Regions from separate parts of the Homo sapiens genome. Here region 2 is linked to region 1. Evidence: promoter capture Hi-C in 16 types of primary human blood cells and fetal thymus (Javierre and others, 2016). All regions are on one chromosome and are shown on one strand. The core of a region is centred on a gene start or on the middle of the fragment in contact, and the rest is flanking DNA. Distances in the headings are between cores, read along the strand shown. Region 1 holds the start of APOA1 (apolipoprotein A1). Region 2 overlaps ZPR1 (ZPR1 zinc finger).

The links. The method cuts DNA at HindIII sites, captures the fragments that hold promoters and counts their contacts. A CHiCAGO score of 5 or more calls a contact.
Region 2: a fragment that was not itself captured here is called in contact with the fragment with the promoter of APOA1 in region 1 in 1 of 17 cell types (total CD8 T cells); the score reaches 6.0 in total CD8 T cells.

What each region holds. Positions count from the first base shown.
Region 1 is chr11:116,836,372-116,839,414 of GRCh38, forward strand. APOA1 (apolipoprotein A1) reads right to left here and starts at 1,251. Exons shown (of 4, transcript NM_000039.3): 1 at 1,234-1,251; 2 at 974-1,036; 3 at 630-786; 4 at 1-40. The coding sequence starts at 1,016. It also overlaps APOA1-AS. The HindIII fragment of the contact is 2,883 bases long and covers 851-3,043 here.
Region 2 is chr11:116,780,723-116,783,422 of GRCh38, forward strand. It overlaps ZPR1 (ZPR1 zinc finger), which reads right to left. Exons shown (of 14, transcript NM_003904.5): 11 at 2,197-2,307; 12 at 1,436-1,522. Among named protein-coding and RNA genes, the nearest start is that of ZPR1, 6.0 kb to the right of the region's middle. The HindIII fragment of the contact is 1,791 bases long and covers 540-2,330 here.

The sequences.
Region 1 (3,043 bases), core at 1-2,500:
GGTGGAGGTCACGCTGTCCCAGTTGTCAAGGAGCTTTAGGCTGGAGGGTGAGACAGAAGGGTTGAGGGCTGGCCTCCCAGCGCCCCAGCCTATCAGGGGTGAGCCCTGGGTGACACCTGTCCGCGGAGGTGCAGTGGCCTAGCATTTCCAGTACACTCTCAACCAACACCCCTGCCCCGCCAGGCCATGCCCCGTTGTGCAGCTGGACCGAGGCACAGAGAGGAGCTAAAAAGGAGACAGAGCTGGGACTAGTGCCCAGTTACGTTGGTCTCCAAAGTGGGCCCTTGAAGGACCTCGCTTCTATGCCTCCAGCGCATTCTCCTCTCCGAAGACAGCCCACAGTCTTGCTGGGCAGGAGCAGAGGAGGTGGTGAAGAAGGGAAAGGGGCTTGCTACACTTGCAGGCACAATGTGGCTCTGTGATCACGCATCGGGCAGCCCTGGTCTGTCCTTTGCAGGGGACATGGGCTGTGACCCTGCCTGGAGATCCCATTCCAGTTTCTCCATCCAGACCATCTGTGGGGCCCAGCTCATCAGATATTAGGTGAGGACTCGGCCAGTCTGGCTTCAACATCATCCCACAGGCCTCTGCCCCCTACCCCTGCCCTCAACCCCAGGCTGGGTCCTTACTTTAGCTGTTTTCCCAAGGCGGAGCCTTCAAACTGGGACACATAGTCTCTGCCGCTGTCTTTGAGCACATCCACGTACACAGTGGCCAGGTCCTTCACTCGATCCCAGGGGCTCTGGGGGGGTTCATCTTGCTGCCAGAAATGCCGAGCCTGGCTCCCTGAGGGTGGGAGGGGAGACCCAGATCAGGCCAGCTGTGGGCTGAGATCTGAGCCGAAAGGCCAAGCTTGGAGGTGGGGGAGAGGGGGCCAGTGAGAAACCTGCTGCCTCTGCCCAGGAGGGTGGGCCACGGGGATTTAGGGAGAAAGCCCCCCGATGGTTGGCTCCCTAGGTTAGGGGACACCTACCCGTCAGGAAGAGCACGGCCAAGGTCAGCACCGCAGCTTTCATCCTGAAGGGCCGTGGGGGACCTGGAGGAGAAGAAGGGCCTGGCTGAGTGGGGTGCCTTCAGCATGCAGAAGCCCCGTGCTCCCCCACTCATTGCAGCCAGGTGAGGAGAAGGGCACAGAGCGGGAGAAGACCTCAGGTACCCAGAGGCCCGGCCTGGGGCAAGGCCTGAACCTTGAGCTGGGGAGCCAGAGTGACCGGGGCAGGCAGCAGGACGCACCTCCTTCTCGCAGTCTCTAAGCAGCCAGCTCTTGCAGGGCCTATTTATGTCTGCAGCCAGGGTCTGGGCTGGGAGGCTGATAAGCCCAGCCCCGGCCCTGTTGCTGCTCACTGGTCCTGGCAATGTGGAACTTAAGAGTTCAAGGATCAGCTCTGTCCCTGGGGCTGGGCAAATAGAGTGGGCAAACAGCAAGCTGCGGGGGCTGCAGGGCAGGGGTCAAGGGTTCAGTGGGGGCGGGAGGGGAGTGTCTGCAGGCTTGCAGGTCTCCCGGGTGGGGTCGGGGTTCCCTGCACTCATCCCCTTCCCCTCCATGGGAGTGTGTGGGCAGTTGCCATTGTCCATTGTGTTGGCAGAGGAGGGGAGGGGAGGGACGCTGGGACTCCTCCACCAAGGAGACTGCCTCCCCCACCACCAGCATTCCAGGGAGACTACTTCACTCCCCTCCCCCTTCCCCCGCCCTGTCCTCCCACCAGTGCTCTTCTTTAGTCCCCAGCAGGTCCTCCAGGCCTCTCTCCAAGCCTCCCAAACTGGTAAACCTGGGGAGAGGGGAGAGCCCTCCGTGGCTCCCAGACTGAGGTTTCGGAGACCTCTTGCATTTCAAAACACTCCAGAGATCAATTCGGAGCTGCCAACTTTTAATTTTGTCATGTAAAGATATTGTCCGCCTCCAAAAAACCCTCACCATCTACAGTGACCATCACTTCAAAAAGGAAAGGCTTTAACAAAAAAGGGCATAATCTCAGAATTACATTACAGAATTGAAGCCCCTTAGATTGAAGACGTCTCCCTTTGCATTGTTCACACTTATATTTGATCACGCACAGGTGTGACTGGATCTCAGCCCTTGGGAAGCCCTGGTGTGGGGAGAAGACCTCTGGGCAAAGGAAGTGGCAGGAGACCTGCTTTCTCATTTCACTTGGCCTCCATCTTGCTGGAGGAAGATCGTGGGCAAGTTATATAATCTCTCTGAGCCTCGGTTTTCTATCTGCAAAATGGGGCAAGAATGGTCAGGGTTGTTGGAGGCCCCTGAGACAGCCTGTGAATGTAAAGTGCTGTGTGTCCGTTGGTGTTTGCAGCACCATCTTGTCAGGTTTCTCCTGGAAGGCCCAGACCTCCCCCAGCAGGTTACTGATAGGACCTGAGTCCTAGAGCCTGTGATGCAGGCTGAGAGGAACTGTGACATCACTCCAGCCTCTCCCCATGCCACCATCTCACAGATGAAGAGACTGAAGAGCACAGAGGGACTTTGCCCAGAGGCTGTCATCTCTCAGGGAGTTAGAAGAAAGGCTGGACCTAGAACCCAGTCTCTGGACTTGGGATGCAGGGCAGAAATGTACCCTGTACCATCACTCCAGGAAACTCCCTAACACTAGAAACCAGGCTGACATCTCTGTTTACCAGATCAGGGAGTGGTCGGCCTCATGCCTTTCACTTCAGAGAAGATTCTGGAGCCAGAAAACCTCAAATCTAAGGGTCAGGCAGGTTCAAATCCAGCTGCCTGACCCTGGATGAGTTATGATACATCACCTCCCCACACATCAGTTTCTGATTGAAGATAATGATAGAATATGCCATCGCCCTGAGTTATGGCAGGGGTTACTGTGTGGCAAGCAGAATAACGCTCCCCAAAGATGTCCACAGCCTCATCCCTGGAACCTGTGGCTTTGCTACCTTCCATGGCAAAAAAAGATTTTGCTAGTGTGATTAAGGACCTGGAGATGGGGTGGTTGGCCTGGATTCTCCAGGTGGGCCCATTGTCATCACAGGGGTCCTTAATTATACAAGAGGGAGGCAGTGGCCTCAGAGTCAG
Region 2 (2,700 bases), core at 185-2,684, 55 kb before region 1:
TAAATTCCCCTGTAATAAGCCCCATGTCAACAAGGCTCACCCCCTACTCAGGTCTTTAGCCCGCTACTTGTAAGAAGACAATCAATGATTATCAGACATCTGAGCAAAGCCCTTAACACTGAAAGATGGGAAATCAAATGGGGAAAAAAAGGATGCAAGGAGAATAAAATGTCAAAAAAGATCCAACATCAGTATCAATAAGTGCTATATAAACTGCATGCTGAAAAAATTTAAAAAATAATAATCCTCAAGAAGAAAAAATACTACATCCTTAAGACAGGATGCTATTTTTTAAAAAGCTCCTTGGAAAATAAAAGTTTTAGTGGAAATGAAAACCTCAATTGAAGGGTTGGAAAATAAAGTTGAGGGAATCTCCCAAAGAAGAACAAAAAAACCAAGAAACCAAAAATAGGACCAAAAAAAGAGTAAATTATAGAAGACCAGACAAGTAAGTCTAATATCTAAAACCCAGGAGTTTTCAGAAAGAACAGAAAAAAAAAATCAGAAAAAAGATAATCTTCAATAGAATAATTCATGAAAGCTTCCTAGAACTGAACCACATGAGTTTTCCAGACTGAAAAAATACATCTACCAAGTGCTTAGCCCAGTGGATGAAAACTGACCCACACCAAGGCACACCCTGAAATTTCACATCAAAGGAAACGAAGAGATCACAAGACTAGGTCACATATAAAAGACCAGGAATCAAATGGCTTCAGACTTCTCAATAGCCAAAGTGGAAGACTATAGTACAATGTCTTTACCAAACTGGAAGACCATAGTGCAGTCTTCGAAATTCTGATAAAAAATTATTTCTATCCTAGAATCGTATTCCCAGCCAATAATCACTCTAGTGTGATAACAGAATAAAGACATGTTCAGATGTGGAAGGTCCCAGAAATTTTATTTCCCATGCACTTTTTCCCAGGAAGCTACTGGAGAAGATGCTCTAACAAAATAAGGGAGAAAAACAAGAAAGAAGACGTGGAATATAGAAAACCAGAAGAGGGCCAGGTGCGGTGGCTCACGCCTGTAATCCCAGCACTTTGGGAAGCCCAGGCAGGCAGATCACGAGGTCAGGAGTTCGAGACCAGTCTGGCCAACATAGTGAAACCCTGTCTCTACTAAAAATACAAAAAATTAGCCAGGCGTGGTGGTGTGCGCCTGTAATCCCAGCTACTCGGGAGGCTGAGGCAGCAGAATCGCATGAACCCGGGAGGCAGAGGTTGCAGTGAGCCGAGATCACGCCACTGCACTCCAGCCTGGGCAACAGAACGAGACTCTGTCTCCAAAAAAAAAAAAAAGAAAAGAAAACCAGAAGAAGAATCCCCAACATGATGGTTAGATGTTCAAAAAGTGGCAAGACATGAGCATGCAGCCTCCTGTTCACTGGAGCCCCAGGATTCTAAGTACTGACTGGCCAGTGACCTCTTACCTGGTCCATCTTCTGGCTAAACTCCTGTAGTCTCTCCGTCTGTCCAGGATTGGAACTGTCGCCCAGTGTGAAAGGATTTTTGGTCACCTGCAATAAATGATAATCCAAACTATGTGAATACTGGCTTTATATTTGTTAGGCCTGACCATAAACTAGGCAGGGGGTGACAGTGGGTGCCCTGTCAGGGAAACTTGGTTTCCATTTAGCCCACACCACCTTTCTGACCAAGGCAGTCACTCCTAGGAGTCTATGGGATAATGTGCCAAGATAACAAAACTGGCAATGTAAAACAAAATCGAAACATGTTCTTAGAATATGATCTCTGATACTAATTTGGAGAAGAAATGCAAAGAAAAAGTACAATTTACAAATACAAAATGCCCAACAGAGAATCAAGTGAAATAATTCATCAAGGAGATAAACATTTGGGCTAAGTCAACCCATACATGTATGTTTTTTATGTTGGGAAGTTTTAGGTGCTAGAAGGACCCTCATCCCCTAACTTTACAGTAAAATAAATGACTTGTCCAAGACCACAAAATAACTATAAAGTCCCAAAGTTAGGCCTGGAATTTCCATTCAACATTTCCCATAAACTTGTCTTCACCATCCAAAGTAATATTTAAGTCTCTTAAACCAGCTTTAAGGCAAAGAAACCCACAGTTACCAGCACCGAAAATTAGGATGTCTGAAGTCTTCCAGTCCCTCTTCACACAGCCAAATTGCTCAAAGGTGGTTTACACACTACTCAAGTGACTCACCAGTTCCCGGATGTCTTTCAGCAGCCCTTCCAGTGTGGTGAACTTGCCCCCGAGGACTGCCATTCCCAGTTCAAATTCTAGCTCTGGGATTTCCACACTGCAAGTCTCAGACTGTGAAATGAGAGGTCAGTTTAAGCTTTAAGTCAGAAGCAAAGAAAGCCAACCAGAGGCCTCCTGCCCAATTAATACCAGCAGTGATAGACTGCGGACAAGGGCAGCTGTCTCAGTTTTCTCTGACTCCCTTGTTAAAGCTTGAGACTCACTCCTGTCCATCTGAACCACGGGAATAGATCCAACTTAATAAAGGGAAACTCAGTCATAGCTTCGAGCTGTCAGGTATCCTGTCACTAGGGGACAGACAGAGAAGAGGACCCAGATAGACACTGGAGGCCAAAAAGCTACCAGGTCATCAGAAAGAGCTAACAGGGTCACCTTCTAAACCTGCAATTCCAATCTTAGATTAACTCCCTCTGCTCAGGGGTCCTCAAAGCCAGGGAAGTAGGA